Regions from separate parts of the Homo sapiens genome. Here all the other regions are linked to region 3. Evidence: promoter capture Hi-C in 16 types of primary human blood cells and fetal thymus (Javierre and others, 2016). All regions are on one chromosome and are shown on one strand. Each heading gives the region's core, a stretch centred on a gene start or on the middle of the fragment in contact. The rest is flanking DNA. Distances are from core to core; before and after follow the strand shown.

The links. Contacts are between HindIII fragments. The CHiCAGO score rates a contact against its expected background, and 5 or more counts as called.
Region 1: a fragment that was not itself captured here is called in contact with the fragment with the promoter of INSM1 in region 3 in 3 of 17 cell types (M1 macrophages, M0 macrophages and M2 macrophages); the score reaches 6.0 in M1 macrophages.
Region 2: a contact is called between a fragment that was not itself captured here and the fragment with the promoter of INSM1 in region 3, in 4 of 17 cell types (megakaryocytes, fetal thymus, M1 macrophages and 1 more). The highest score is 10.7, in megakaryocytes.
Region 4: a contact is called between a fragment that was not itself captured here and the fragment with the promoter of INSM1 in region 3, in 1 of 17 cell types (M2 macrophages). The highest score is 5.4, in M2 macrophages.

Annotation. Positions count from the first base shown.
Region 1 is chr20:20,183,191-20,186,980 of GRCh38, reverse strand. The region is part of intron 13 of CFAP61 (cilia and flagella associated protein 61); the gene reads right to left. Among named protein-coding and RNA genes, the nearest start is that of CFAP61-AS1, 83 kb to the left of the region's middle. The HindIII fragment of the contact is 786 bases long and covers 1,909-2,694 here.
Region 2 is chr20:20,570,196-20,574,148 of GRCh38, reverse strand. RALGAPA2 (Ral GTPase activating protein catalytic subunit alpha 2) reads left to right here. Exons shown (of 40, transcript NM_020343.4): 21 at 1,081-1,274; 22 at 2,203-2,301; 23 at 2,536-2,691. Among named protein-coding and RNA genes, the nearest start is that of RALGAPA2, 140 kb to the left of the region's middle. The HindIII fragment of the contact is 4,529 bases long and covers 243-3,953 here.
Region 3 is chr20:20,365,386-20,369,416 of GRCh38, reverse strand. It overlaps INSM1 (INSM transcriptional repressor 1), which reads right to left and starts at 1,313. Exons shown (of 1, transcript NM_002196.3): 1 at 1-1,313. The coding sequence starts at 1,149. RefSeq lists an enhancer at 1,450-2,220. The HindIII fragment of the contact is 3,677 bases long and covers 1-2,971 here.
Region 4 is chr20:20,137,734-20,141,702 of GRCh38, reverse strand. The region is part of intron 8 of CFAP61 (cilia and flagella associated protein 61); the gene reads right to left. Among named protein-coding and RNA genes, the nearest start is that of CFAP61, 87 kb to the right of the region's middle. The HindIII fragment of the contact is 573 bases long and covers 2,369-2,941 here.

The sequences.
Region 1 (3,790 bases), core at 1,052-3,551, 180 kb after region 3:
CCCATGGGAAGGAGAGACTGACTGCCCCACACCAGGCCAGAGCCTCACATTTTCATTTTGTAATGGGTCCTGTATATTATGTAGCTAGCCTTGCAGTGAATTCTCTGCAGTTACTAGGGTATTATTACTCAATGGGACAATGCCATTCCTCCTCGTGCTGATACAATAAAATATCCTAATCTATTTAACTTTTAACTGTAGGGAACATCTGTGCTTAAATTTTAATACATGCTTCCATATTATGAACAAAGTATCATATTTGCAAAGAACAATATCTGTATCTATAATTAACTAATAAAAAGATGAACAATTAATACCATCTTAATGTTTATGAGCAATTTTAAGTGAAAGATAAGAACTTGGTTGTTATATGACCACCTTACACCAAAATCTAGTTCAGTGGATTACAGATGTAAATGTAACAAACAAGACCACAAAAGCACTAGAAAAATACTCAAGCGAATTAAAAACATATGTCCACACAAAACCTGTACATGAATTTTCATAGCAGCATTATTCACAATAGCCCAAGAAAAAACAACCCAAATGCCCATCAATTGATGAATGGATAAACAGAGTATGATTGATACATACAACAGAACACTATTCAGCCATAAAAGAAAATAAAGTACTGATGCATACTCCAACATGCATGAACTTTAAAAACATTGTGCGAAGTGAGAGAAACCATATACAAAAGGCCACGTGTTGTGTAATTCCATTTATATGAAATGTCCAGAATAGGCAAATTTACAATGATAGAAAGTGGGTTAGTGATTGTTGGGGGCTGAGGGGAGAAGAGAATGGGAGTGACAGCTTGACAGGTACAGGGTGTCCTCTGGGTGATGCAAATGTTTTAGAACCAGATAGACGTGGTAACTGCACAATGCTGTAACTCTACTACAAACCATTGAATTGTACACTTGAAGTGGACAAATTGTATGGCATGTGAATTACATCTCAATAAAGCTGTTACAAAAATATATGTAATGCCAAAATAATTGAAAGGAAAAGGGAATGGCAACTAATAGCAAAAAAATAAGCTGGCATAGCTATATAAATATCAGCTAAACCAGATCTTAAGGCAAAAATCATGAGAAAAAGGTCTTTATTTGATAATAAAAGTTCACTAGGAAGATATAACAATACCATATGTATAGGTGTCTAACAATAAAGCTCCAGGATACTGAAGTAAAAATGGACAGGGTTATGAGAAGAGTTTGAAATTCACCATCATATTGGTAGAGTTTAATATGCCTCTCTCAGAAACTGGTGTCAGACAACACATTTAAGATACTGTGGAAGATATGGATAAACTTAAGCTAAAGTACACTACATCCCCCAAATGAAAAAGACATGGCCATCTAAGAGTCGTCTCACTGTTTCCATTCCAAAGCCCTCCACCCAGCTGTCTTTCCTGTCTTAGGTAATGGCAACTCCATCCTTCCAGTGGTTCAGGCCCAGACCTTTGGCCTCATCTGTTTTCTTGCACACCTCTCTTTCAGCCTAACTTTGGGCTGGCTCTGCTTTCAAAATGCATCTAAGAATGGAACGACTTCTCAAGACCTCCAGTGCTAGTCCAGCCTCCACCACCTCTCTCCTGGGTTGCTGGAACAGCATACTAGTGTCTCTCCACATTTCTGCCATTGTTCCTGACAAGCCATCCTCCACCAATTTGCCAGAGCAATGCTTATCAAATGTTAAGTCAGATCACAAGACTCTTATACTCAAATTCCCAGTAATAGAGGTGTTCTTAACCTCTTTTATGTGTATGGCCCCTCTCAGAATATTTTTAAATGCATAAAGTAAGATACATAAGATTACAATATACGAGCTTCATTAAACAAACATGATTCAGCAGGGAGTCTAATAATTACCATAATTTTGCTACATTTACGAGCATAAGCTTGCACTCCCAGTAAAAGCCAAAGTTCTACAGTGGCTGAGAGCCCCCTCTCCAACTCTCCATGACCACAGCCTCCTTCCCCGTGCCCTCCCTCTGGGATTGCTGCTTGCTCTGACTCATCTCCAAATAGTTGGCTTCTTGGTTTCCCTGCTCTGCTGCACAGGCCACTATGCTGTTCCTCAAACATGCCAGACATAGTCCCTCATCAGAGGTTCCCACTTGAGGAAGTTCCTACCTCATCAGAAGGTCCTACTTCATCAGAAGTTCTTATGTCATCAGAAGTTCCTATCTCATCAGAAGGTGCTACCTTATCAGAATTCCCTACCTGAGGAAGTTCCTACCTCATCAGAAGTTCCTGCCTCATCAGAAGTTCTTACCTCATCAGAAGTTCCTACCTGAGGAAGTTCCTACCTCATCAGAAGTTACCTCATCAGAAGTTCCTACCTGTAATTCTCCTCCAGCAAATCTATGAGCCTGTTCCATCACCTCAACATTGAGTCTTTGCTGAAACTTCACCCTCTCAGTGACGCCCTCCCTGACCCTGACCCCCTATTTAAAATTTGGACCCTGACCTTCCATCCTCATTCCCTGTTCTATTTTTCTCCACAGCACTTCCTACTTTCTCTTTATTTTGTTTTTCACTGTTTGTCTCCTCCCACTAGAATAAAATTTGACAAAGATGGCAGTGTTGGTCTATTTGCTCACTGCTGCCACCTCATGGCTAGAGCAATGCCTGGCACATGGTAGATGCTCAATAAACAGCTGTCAAGTGAACTAATCATGAAGCTTGCATGGAGATAGCCAGAGAGCTTCCCCATGCTTATTACATGTTTTTTTACATATAATAAATACTACAACTGAGTTATAAAGAGTGTTGTTGGATACTGGACTGGAAAGTGAGAATAAGTGGACATCTTCCCCCAGCAAGGCTTGAAGCTCAGACCATATCATGGTCCACTCTAAAAGACCAGGGCTTTTTGTAGCCTACAGTGGTGCCCAATAAATGTTCAGTAGGACATGGGGTTATCTTCCTGCAAAGTAGCACAAAACTGCAAACATCGTTTCACCAGTCTGTCCATGGAAATCTACTGTTGATCAGGGGTCACAACCATTTTGCATTCATCTCTGCTATTCATATTCACCAAAGAGGAATATTTCAGAGCTTTCCTTTGTTCCTAGAATTTCAGGGGGAGGAACGGGCTATGGCTGTATGTTTGTGCCCTCCTCTAAAATGACACTGTCCAGTACAAGAGCCTGTACACTTGAAATGTGGTACTCAGAATTGAGATGTGCTGTAAGAATAAAATATCCACTGAATTGTGGACTTGGTACAAAAAAGTAACATAAAGTATCTCATTCGTGCTTTTTAAATATTGATTACACGCTGAAACAATAATATTTTGGATATAATGGGTTAAATAAGAAATAAATGTTACAATTAATTTCACCTACTTTTTGATTTTTAAATTAATGTGGCTATTCAAAAATCTAAAATTACACATGTGGCTCACAGCGTATTCCTACTGAATGGGGCTGCTCTCTATGTCTGTATTTGCCTCTGAGAACTATTTCCCAAAAGGTTTTTACTCAGCTCAAAAAGCAGAATGTAGGCTGGCTGGGTGAGGTGGCTCACACCTGTAATCCCAGCACTTTGGGAGGCCAAGGCAGGAGGATCACTTGAGACCAGGAGTTCAAGACCAGCCCAGCTGACATGGTGAAACTCCATCTCTACTAAAAATACAAAAATTAGCCGTGCATGGTGGCTCATGCCTGTAATCCCAGCTACTTGGTTGGCCAAGGCACTAGAATCACTTGAACCCAGAACCCAGGAGGCAGAGGTTGCAGTGAGTCGAAGTCGTGCCACTGCACTCCAGCCTGGGCAAA
Region 2 (3,953 bases), core at 1,258-3,757, 200 kb before region 3:
CCTATAAGAATGGTTAAAATTTTAAAAACCAACAGTATCAAGTTCTAGCAAGGATGTAGAACAAGTGGAACTCTCTCATACTTTGCTTGCAGGAGTGCAAACCGTAACAGCACTTTGGACAACAGTTTGACAGTTTCTTTCTTCAGTTTAATGTTTATTAAGCATACACTTATGACCGGACCCAGGAATCTCACTCCTAGATATTTACTTAAGAGAAATGTAAACATGTTAACACAAAAGCTTGTACATGAATGTTTATAGCAACTGTATTCATAATTGCCAAAAAACAGGAACAAATCTAAATATCTACAGGTGAATGGATAAACTATGACACATCTGTAAAATAGAATATTAATCAGTAATAAGAAGAGACAACTGATACCCACAACTGTACAGATGAATCTCAAATGCATTTTGCTGAGTGAAAGAAACCAGACAGGCTACAAACTGTAGAATTTCATTCATGTGACATTCTGGAAAAGGCAAAACTATAGGAACAGAGAACAAAGCAGTAGTTGCAAGAGGCTGAGAATAGAGGAAGGGGACCAATTATGAAGGGGCACTTTTTGGAGTGATGAGATCCTCCATATTTCAATTATGGTGGCAGTTTATGGCAACAGTTGCATGAACGTATACATTCCTTAAAACTCCTTAAACCTGAAAGGGATGGAAATTTCTTGTATGCACATTTCACCCCCATGAACCTGACCTAACAACAACCACCGCAGATGTTACTCCAGCATTGAGGCTTCCCTGGCCACCCATTTCCATGGCACTGTTTCCCACCCATCCTGCTCAAGGGTCTCCCTCTTCCTCTCCCCTGATCTATAAAACCCATCACAGGGTCTCCAGGAACTGTTATGTCATGTCTTAGCTTGTTGCTCTTTTAGTTTGAAGAATCAAAATCATTTGACCTTTCTTCCTTGATCCTGCTTTTCTCTCCTTTTAAATTCTCAGCTGTTTCACATTTTTTGCCTTAATTATTTTACTTTGAATACCTAAGGTAATTTGCCTTAAAGAAAAAAGGTATGATGAAATCAAGATTGTTTACAGGGTTAACAGACATGTTTTTCTGCATAGATAGCAGCGAGTGCCTCACAGATGACTGTAGTATAATCGCCGGGGGGAGCCTCACTGGTTGGCACCCAGACTCTGCTGCTGTGTTATGGCGAAGGGTCTTGGGGATCCTCGGAGATGTGAATAACATCCAGTCACCCAAGATCCATGCCAGAGTTTTCTGCTATCTCTATGAACTCTGGTACAAACTAGCAAAGGTAAGTTCTGCTATGTTACTTTTTATTCTAATCCAGGAAAATGGTCTTATCATTTAATGTAAAAACTGTGTTTCAGTTAACTACTGAACATATTCCGAAACACAAATGGTACATTTAGACAAAGTCCATTTGATTATCAAAGAATAATCATATATAACATGACTATTTTATAAATGCAAAAGTTATTTCATTTAGTGCAAAAGTAGAATATTGCTATAGGATATTAAATACAGGATGTTAAGTCATTCTAGTTACTCTCTTTATAAAAGTGATATTGGTTGTATTGTATACAATTTGAAAAATGTAGAAAAATACAAAGAAGAAAATTAACATCAGTATTCATAGAAATAGCCAATATTAATATATAGTCTTCTTTCTTTTTATGAAAGTAGAATCTTAGAGTACATACAAGTTTTTTTTTTTTTTTTGAAATGGAGTCTTGCTTGCCCTGTCGCCCAGGCTGGAGTGCAGTGGCGCCATCTTGGCTCACTGCAACCCTCTGCCTCCTGGGTTCAAGCAATTCTCCTGCTTTAGCCTCCTGAGTAGTACATACAATTTTTATTCTGATTTTTGTTTGGGTTCTGACATTCACATGTATTAAATTTTTTTTTCAAAAACATGGTTCATGTTTGTTCAGTATAACTCATTAAAATGTTACTTATCGTTTGGAATTCAGGACCTCCCCAGCCATTAACGTTCAAGGAAAAACAATGCCTTTGTTTTGTATATAAATCTAAAACCACATACAGTAAGCCAAACATGTAATTCAAAAGGATAATTTCACAATAAAAGAGAAACTTGTAAATATTACAGGTTTTCACTTATAGAAATTAACTGAAAGCAGCTATATGGTCACAGAAGACTGTTGAAATACTGTTGGGATAAACGTAATGTTACCTACCCTAAAATTCTCCTCTTTGTGAATTAGATACGGGATAATCTAGCAATAAGCCTGGATAACCAGTCTTCTCCATCTCCTCCAGTTTTGATCCCACCACTCAGAATGTTTGCATCATGGCTGTTTAAGGCAAGTGGATATGTGTTTATTCCTTTATTGCGATTTCCTCTTCCTTTCTGAAATTGAGTTTGAAAAATGTAATTGCCCAAGACTGCATGTTTTGAAGACAGGCTGGGTCTTACTAAAGTAACTGCATCCCACATGTCCATAAACAACTCTTAAGGAAAACTGAGAAGTAAATGAAATGTTGAAATACTCTGCACCTGGGCTTGATTTAATCTGGAAACATCATCTCCTTGACAGGCGGCGACACTGCCAAATGAATATAAGGAAGGCAAACTACAAGCCTACAGGCTGATCTGTGCCATGATGACCAGACGCCAGGACGTTCTGCCAAACTCAGATTTCCTGGTGCATTTTTACCTTGTGATGCACCTGGGATTAACCAGCGAGGATCAGGTATTCTGCGACTCCTTTATTGTGATTGCCCATTAATTGGAAATAGCATATCACTCTTTAAAGACATTAGTAATATTTATGAAAATACATCAGAAGTGTTGAATTTCTCAGTAGTTTCAACTCTTTTACACACAGCAAGCACAATGGTCTTTCAAAAATGTAAATCAGGTTTCACATCCCTGCTTCTTCTCCCCACTGACTTTGCATTTGCATTGTGCCAACCAAATTTTAATTTTATTCTATGGCCTCTATGATCTAACCTCTGCCTGTGTTGTCAACCTCAAAATACTATTATAACCACTTTTTGTTTGGGTTCTGCATTAAATATGGTTTGAAGAAAGTGGTACTGATCATTTAAAAATGTTTGAAAATTGTTGTTTTAGTAGTTAGGATGTTTTTGTGAAAGACTTTACCTGTAAGATAGAAGATGAGTCCAGACATTTCTTGATAAGGAGTTATTTTAATTTCTCCCAATGCAATTTAAGTTTGGTTCAAGTTCGAACAGAAAGGCCCAAGGAGCCACTAGCTACCTCTTCCTCCTTGTAGGCCCTAGGTTTGGGAGATAGGGTGTGGCCAGACCCTGACCTTCCTCCCTTGGGAAGACTTCTGCCAGTTGAGGGAGATTACGGATAGGGACACATGGATTCTTGACTTGATTTGGGATATCAAGCAGGCAAGTGATGTGATTGATTTATGCTTCACAGAGATTCTGGACTGCATTTGGAAGATGGATTTGAAAATGTGATAGTAGGATAGAATCAGAGATTGGCCTGTAGATGGAGAACAATTAGGAAGTGTTTAATACAGATTTTAAAAAAATGATAAGAACTAAGCCGGTAGCATTGGGGATGGAAAGAAAGGAATAGAAAAGATTCAATAAATTTTAAGACATTTCATTTTATTACTAGGTTTTCTTAACCAATATAGAGGTATAGGGAGTGTTTGAGATTTACCCTTTAAATTGTAAATACTTATTAATGAACTTGAATCATTTATTAACTATCAAGTAACTGTCCTTTCTGCATTTTTTGTATTCGTTGAAGGTATGATGCAGACACACAGACCTTTTGATACCTCAGGGTACATGTAAGAAGTTATTCTCCTGATAAGCAAACTTTTTTTGTTGCTTTAGAATGTACTTGAATTTAAATAGTTTGCAGTATGTATTTCCCAATACTTACTTTGAGCTTTAAAAATCATTGAACTCTTATATGAAATAATAACCATACTGTCCTAGTGAGTAGTCTGTCATATTCATTGTG
Region 3 (4,031 bases), core at 64-2,563:
GCGTAGGTAGGCCTGGCGGCGGAACTTCTTGGCGCAGTGATGGCACTCGTAGAGCCCGTCCTCGGAGCCCGACTCGGACACGCCGCCGGGGCTCGGCGTGTCCCGGTCGCTGCCGCCGCCGGGTGCCTCCCGCGCCTCAGCCCTGGCTGCTGCTTCTGGCTCCGGCGCGCGGGCGGCGGCGGGCGCGGGCCGCGGTTTGTGCCAGCGGCGGTGCGAGGCCAGGTTGGCCGGGCAGCTGAAGACCTTGGCGCACTCGGGACAGCGGTACTCCACACGCACGATGCGCGAGCATTTGTGCTGCGCCAGCGCGAACGGGTCGGCGTACTCCTCCTTGCACAGCTGGCAGATGAACTCGCCCAGCGGCCGCGCCGCGCCCCCCGCGCGGCCCCGCGGCGCCTCCACCGGGCCCTCCTTGATCTTGAGCCCCAGCACGGGCGACGTGGTCACCTCGTCCTCGAAGTGCAGCTTGCGGATGGCCTTGGGCTTCTTGGCGCCCGGGGCCTTGACTGCCTTGGCGGGCGGCTCCGCGGCGGTAGGGGGCGGGGGCCGCTTTCCCGGGGGCCGCAGGGCGGCGGCAGGGGGCAGTGGGGGGCCGGGGCCCGGGCCGCGGGCCGCCTCGGCGCCAGCCGAGAACGCCGTGCCCATCTTGAGCTCGGCGGGCGCGAAGAGCAGCGGGTCGCCGCCGCAGGTGCCGCCTCCGCCAGCTCCGCTCGCGCCGCCGCCGCCGCCCCCTCCGAGCAGCGCGGCGGGCGTGGGGAAGGACTCGGCCGAGACCGGCGAGCCCAGGTTGAAGCTGCGTTCGAAGTACTTGTGCTTCTCGTGCTCGCGGCTCACGGGCCGCGTGGGACTGTAGAGCGGCGCGGGGTGCGCAGCCTCGGGGTTGCCGAAGTGCGCGGCCCGCGGGCCCTGCGGGGGTGGCTGCGGCCCAGGCGCGCAGGCAAGCGCGGCGGCGAGCGCTGCATGGGCGCGCTCCGCGGGCGGCGGCGGCGGCAGCGGCCCGGGGACCGGGCTCGGCGCCGGGGGCTCGGCGCGGGCGCCCCCGCAGCTGGGCGAGAGCAGCAGTGCGCGGTCGCCGTCCTCGCCGCCGCGGACCCGGTAGGAAACGGGCGTGGACTTCTTGCTGCGCTTCACCAGGAAGCCGCGGGGCATGTTGGCGCGGCCCGAGGGCACGGCACTGGCTCGGTCCCCCCTCCGCGCTCGGCCCCGGCGGCCCTCAGTGCCCCCGGCCCATTGCCCGGGCGCGGCGGCTGCGGGACTCGCGTGGCGCCGGCGACGGCTCGGCCCAGCTCTGCGCCCTGCACGCGCGTCCCTGTCCCCGGGCCCGGCAGCCGCTCCCTTTTAACGGGGGGAGGGGGCCATTGTTCTCGCCTCCCGCTTCCCCTGGAGCCAATCAGCGCGTCCGCAGCTCCTCAGCCTGGCAGGGTGGGAGGGCGATGGGGCGGCCAAAAGGGGGCCGGGACTCGGGGGTCGCCCGGTAGGTGCGGCAGATGTACCTGAGGGCGCGGGGCCCCCGCGCGCGCCCCTGGTCGCCCCGCCCGGCGCCGCCGCCCCGCCCGGTCCAGGCACACGCCCGGCCCCGCCTCCCTTCACGGTCTGCTGCTTCTCTATGGGGAGGCGCACGTGCCTGGGCTTTGTGTCTCTCCTCCGGGGGGCGCGGAGCCGCCAAATGGGCCCGTCCATCAGCGCGACAATGCACGCCCCCCTCCCGCGCGGGGATTACCCGCGGGTCGCTAGCAAAATAGCAACAAAGGAGAAGAATGGCCCCAAATATGTCAGGAGGGTTCAATCCGCGAGCCGGAGCCGAGGGGGAAGTTGTGCGCGCTGATTGGGTGGGGGCGGGGGCGCGCCGGGGCGGTGCGGGGGAGATCGTTGCGGAGGCGCAGTGGCTCCGCGTGGTGTTTGGGAAATAAACAAGAATCCGAGAGAGCAGCAGGGTCCGGACGGCCTCCGCCCGGACCTTGGACGGATGGGCCGCTGGACCCAAGAGGCCAAGCAAAAGGGTTCCCCGGGGTTCCAAGTGTGGACAGGGGGCCCGGCCTTCTGGCAGTGGCCGAGGGCGATGTTTGTGCTCGCAGCCTCCGCGCGCCCACGGGGCTAGAGAAGGTTTCTTTCGAGTTTGAGAAGGAATTGGCACGGCCTTCTCAGTCTCCCGAAAGCGCGGGATTGGAGCGCGGGCGGGCTGGGCTGGGTTCCCAGAGGAACGTGAATTTCTGAACTTTTGGGTTCTTGGAGGCTTGGGAATGGCATCTTTGGCGGGGCCCGACCCAGGCCGCCCGGAGCTTCCGCGTGGTCCAAGGCTCGGTTAATCCGGGTCGAGTTGGCCGAAGCCCGAAACGCGCGGTCGGCCTCGTGCGCCCCAGTGAAGTTGGCTTTCTCCTCCCCGCGCGGCCTCATGCATTTTCATTCCGAGCGGGCATTTTGTTTGCCGGTTGACATCAGATGCTAAATCAAGGGCTCCAATCAAGGCGCTGCGAAATAAAGGGGCTGCCTGTCTGGGCGCAGCCCCCACGGAGCCGTGCCCCCTTCACCTTTGTGAAGGAAATTAACCTCCTGCTATTGAGCTCCGGTCGCGGCCAATCTGGACGCAAAAGAGACGCGTGCTGGACGGGGGGAGGGGGGGCAATCTGTACTCTGAGGCAGGCTGAGGCCTCCGAGAGGACAAGCCGCCTCCCCTGTGCCACCAGGAAGAGACAACAGCGAAGATTCCCCCCGCCCCCACCCCCACCCCCACCTCCGCTGCCGTTCCGTTTGGACCCAGACTGGGCCGCCTGCCTCCATCCTCTGTCCAGCCCAGCCCCGAGGAAACACAAAAGGCAGAATCTTCGGGGGACAGGGCAGAGAACCCCACGAGTGCGTAGTGGCCCTGATCGTCCAACACTGGGGAACAAATAGCCAAGCCACATAAAATGTCATATGCTGTGAGGAAAATGTCACTTTATTGAAAGAGAAGGAAACATTTTTCTGCAAAGCTTTGTATACCAGACAGATTTTGCTGAGTTTTACTTACGCTTAATTCCACTGAAGGTATTTAATTGTTTTGGATTTTCCCTCTGAAAATACCCTGGCGTAGAAATTAAACATGTAAAAATAGAGTCCACATGAGTCATAAGTTGTGATGGGGACAGTTGTTAGGCTTAATTAATTAAGGGGTTAATCAGGTTGGTTAATCAAGGGAAAGATATTTGATAATTTTATGTTTGTAATATTTTAACTCACACACTGAAAAGGGAAGAATGCATATAGTGAAATATATTTTGAAAAGTCTCACCCTAGTTTTAAAAATGCTGTGGTGAGTGCTAGTCTCCCCAAAAGTTAGAAATCTTAAAATGAGTTTATCTAAAATTTATAAACATATTTCTATCTAAAAGTAACTGATGTTATTTCCTTGCTCTTTTGAGCTCTGATTAATAGTGCTGATGAAATTAGAAGTGGGAAAAGGATTCCGAGACAGCTTTGGCCAATTTTATTTTCTAATCACGAATCCCATCTGGATTGTAGAATAGCATAGGGCGGGGGCTCGGCCTGCCCCATTCGGTCTTGCATATGTAACACTCCTTCCATTCAACAGATAACAGAGAGTTAGTCACCTTGTGAATCCTTTAAAAATAACAACACCCATAATTGTAAATAAGCCGTGGGGATGGGAAACCGGCACCTCTACCAACAAAAAAAACAAAACAACTCCTGCGTGAGTGAATTCAAACAGGGCTCTGAATTTAGCCAAGGGAATCTATTAAACGCTACTGAGATACTGAGATTCAATGAATCCGTTTCTTTTTCTTTATTTGTGGCTTCCAGTCTTGCTAGCGTAAATGAAATCTGCTTTCAGACGGGTACAGTCAAAATAAATGGAAACTTGAAAGGTACTAGTATTGGAAACTAATTTCACCACCCGGGGCTGGAAGGAGTTAGGCTGCGCACGCGCGCACGCACACACCAGCGACCTCCAAGCAGGTGTAGCCCAGCCCGGGCCGTGGATCGCAGCCGCCTTCTGCGTGATTTTCTCAGAACCTGTGCACCCGCATGCATGG
Region 4 (3,969 bases), core at 1,406-3,905, 230 kb after region 3:
TCTGGGTCACTAATGCATTATACTTACTTCTGGCAAAGATGTAGGTAAATGAATGAAATTCTAAGATAAAAATGAGATGCCTAGGGAGGTGTAAATGGCATAGTCGAAGAGGTACATAATGTTGAAGGCACAATGAGACAGAGAGTCACATTCTAGCATGAAAGGTAGCTCTTTTGGCATGAAGAGAAAATGTCCTGAGAAGAGAGGGTAAATCACTTAGAATCCCTCTTCTGAAGAAAGATGCTTTGAGGAAAATAAAAACTGTCATATCTCTAGCTCCCGATATGTCCTGCACCCTGCAGAATTTTCCAAATAAGACTATCTGGGGTTTCTAGCACTCTCATCATGACAAGAGCAGGATGCTTTTTAGGCTTATTGACCTTGTTGTTGAGATTAACACACATATGAAAAGTGTACAGCTCAGGGAATTTCTACATATGTCTGTTCCTGAACAACCAACGCCTATAAAAATATATAAAACTGGCTTGTCACAGTAGCTCACACCTGTAATCCCAGCACTTTGGGAGGCCAAGGGAGTTGGATCACCTGAGGTCAGGAGTTCAAGACCAGCCTGACCAACATGATGAAACTTCGTCTCTACTTAAAATACAAAAAACATAGCCGGGCATGGTGGTGCACACCTGTAATCCCAGCTACTCAGGAGAGGCAGGAGAATCACTTGAACCTGGGAGGCGGAGGTTGCAGTGAGTCAAGATTGTGCCACTGCACTATAGCCTAGATGACAGAGTGAGACTCCATCTCCAAAAACAAAAAAAAAAAAAGGAAAAAAAAAGAACATATAAAACATTTCCTTTTTTATGGCTGCATAGTATTCCATGGTGTATATGTGCCACATTTTCTTAATCCAGTCTATCATTGTTGGACATTTGGGTTGGTTCCAAGTCTTTGCTATTGTGAATAGTGCCGCAATAAGCATACGTGTGCATGTGTCTTTATAGCAGCATGATTATAGTCCTTTGGGTATATACCCAGTAATGGGATGGCTGGGTCAAATGGTATTTCTAGTTCTAGATCCCTGAGGAATTGCCACACTGACTTCCACAATGGTTGAACTAGTTTATAGTCCCATCAACAGTGTAAAAGTGTTCATATTTCTCCACATCCTCTCCAGCACCTGTTGTTTCCTGACTTTTTAATGATTGCCATAAAAAAGGATGAGTTCATGTCCTTTGTAGGGACATGGATGAAATTGGAAATCATCATTCTCAGTAAACTATCGCAAGGACAAAAAAACCAAACACCGCATGTTCTCACTCATAGGTGGGAAATGAACAATGAGAACACATGGACACAGGAAGGGGAACATCACACTCTGGGGACTGTTGTGGGGTGGGGGGAGGTGGGAGGGATAGCATTAGGAGATATACCTAATGCTAAATGACGAGTTAATGGGTGCAGCACACCAGCATGGCATATGTATACATATGTAACAAACCTGCACATTGTGCACATGTACCCTAAAACTTAAAGTATAATAATAATAAAATAAAAAATAAAAAATTTTTTAAAAAATGCAACAAGACAGCACTAAAAAAAAAAAAAAAAAAAAAAAATTTCCAGCACCCAGAGGTTCCCCTCATCTCCCCGTCCAGTCAATACTCCTCTCAAAGGTATCCACTCTTCCAACTTTTACTATCATTGATTACTTTTGATCAGCAGAAAACTTGTGAATTAAAAAAACCTCATTATCAGTAACTACCTATTTTAATGTATTACAAAGATATTTCTTTCCTATTTTAAGTTTGAAGAACTACAAAAAATGCAACTAAAAGTAGACATTCACTGTGCATGCTTCTTTTATAATTAGGAAAATATTACAAAAAAGTAAAAAGTCTTAAAGACTGGATTAGATTTTCAGTAAACTAATAATCCTGGTGACTTAACTGTCAATGGTCTAATGTTCATGAGACAGTTACCAACTACAAAGACTAATTGCTTGACTAAACTGTCGTGAGGTGTTGCAGTTTATTACTAAGCAGCTGCCACGTTCATCCCTAGAGGTGACTGCATTTCAGAACTGGGCAAGGTGAAGCTGGATCTCTCTCTCCAGTGTCTCTGGGGTCTTGCGAGGTTTAATTACTTAATGTTCATAATGTCCCCTGAGATCCTCAAATAAGAGGTGCTATCCTGGGGAAAGCTGAGGCAGTGGTATTGTGTAACACATGACTAAAAATACAACTGAAGCTGCGCGATTTAATTGTTATTTTATGGCTTATACCATCTAAGTAGTTTAGAAGTCATGAACTATTGGTTTACTCTAGTGGGAGTAAAGGCACAATTTGTCAGGACTTTCTCTCTAAGTGAGACTGCTTATCTGAAGCGGGTTTACCATGAAGCTAATAAAGCTTAGAGGTTCAGGCATCTTCCCAGCACAGGCTCCGCCAAGGCACAGCATCTAATGCCACATTCATCATTTTGCATTACTCTCCTTAAAAAGGGCTCTTGAATGGGTCAGACTTTAGGTCCCACAAGACTCTGGATCTACCCCGCTCTTTATCTAATAGGAATAATACATACGGAGTGCAAAATAATACATGTTGAGGGCTTCAGGAATAAATAATAATATAATTTTGTGCTTTTTACATTTATTTTAAATATCCATCAAAAATCTTAATTTTTGTGTGATGAAATAAATTGATTCTAAAAGAGCAAATATGGAGAAACAGTAAACAAAAATTTAAGAAAGATGAACAAAAAGAGAGCCAAATTCCCAACTGAATATTAAGACATTATAAAGACATAGTTATTAAAACAGAGAGTTACTGGGGCAAGAATAGAACAGAATGAAGGCCAGAAATAGACACAGACAGTTATGAAATGTTGATATATGATGAAGATGGCATTTCAAGTTAGGGGGAAAGAACAAACTGTACAATAAATAGTGCTAGAGGAAGTGAAGCAAAATGATCAAATAGAAGCTTCCACCAATCATCCTCCCCACAGGAACACAAAATTTAACAATTATGTACACAACAAAGCACCTTCATAAGAACCAAAAATCAGGGGAGTGATCACACTATCTGGTTTTAACTTCATATCACTGAAAGAGGCACTGAAGAGGGCAGGAAAGACAGTCTTGAATTGCCAACACTAACCTTTCCCCATTCCCCTGGCAGTAGCCACGTGGCGTGGAAAATCTGTACACTTGGGGAGAGAAAGTGCAGTGACTGTGGGACTTTGCAATGGAATGCAGTGCTGTCAACACCAGGCAGAACTCAGCTGGCACCCCAAGAGGGAGCATTTGCATCAGCCCTAGCCAGATGGGAATCACCCATCCTGCTGGTTGGAACCTGAGTTCTGGCAAGCCGTGCCACCACAGGCAAAAGTGCTCTGGGGTCCTAAATAAACTTGAAAGGCTGTCTAGGCCACGAGGACTGAGCTACCGGACTTAGGGGACATGCGAGCTAGTAAAACACCAGCTGGATCTGCTAAAAGAGTGCTTGCGTTACCCCTCCCCTAATCCCAGGCACCGCATCTCACAGCTCCAAAAGAGACTCCGACTCCTTCCTTCCACTTGAAAAGAGGAGAGGGGAGTGAAGAGGACTTTGTCTTGTAACTTGGATCCCAGCTCAGCCACAGTTGGATAGGGCACCTGGCAGAGTCACAAGGTCCCTATTCCAGGCCCTGGCTCCTGGATGACATTCCTAGACACACCCTGGACTGGAAGGGAAGCTGCTGCCTTGACATGAAGGACCCAGTCCTAGTAGGATTCATCATGTGGTGACTAAAGAGCCCCTGGGCCCTGAATAATCAGCAGCAGTAGCCAGGTAGTACTCGCCATGGGCCTTGGGTGAGACTAAGAGCTGTGCTGACTTCAGGTGTGACCGGCACATTCTCAGCTGTAGTGGCTACGAGAAGAGACCACTTCTGCTTCAGAAAAGCAGAGGAAAGAGTAAAGGGGACTTTGTCTTGAGCTTAGGTGTCAGCTTGGCCACAGTGGGGAAGAGC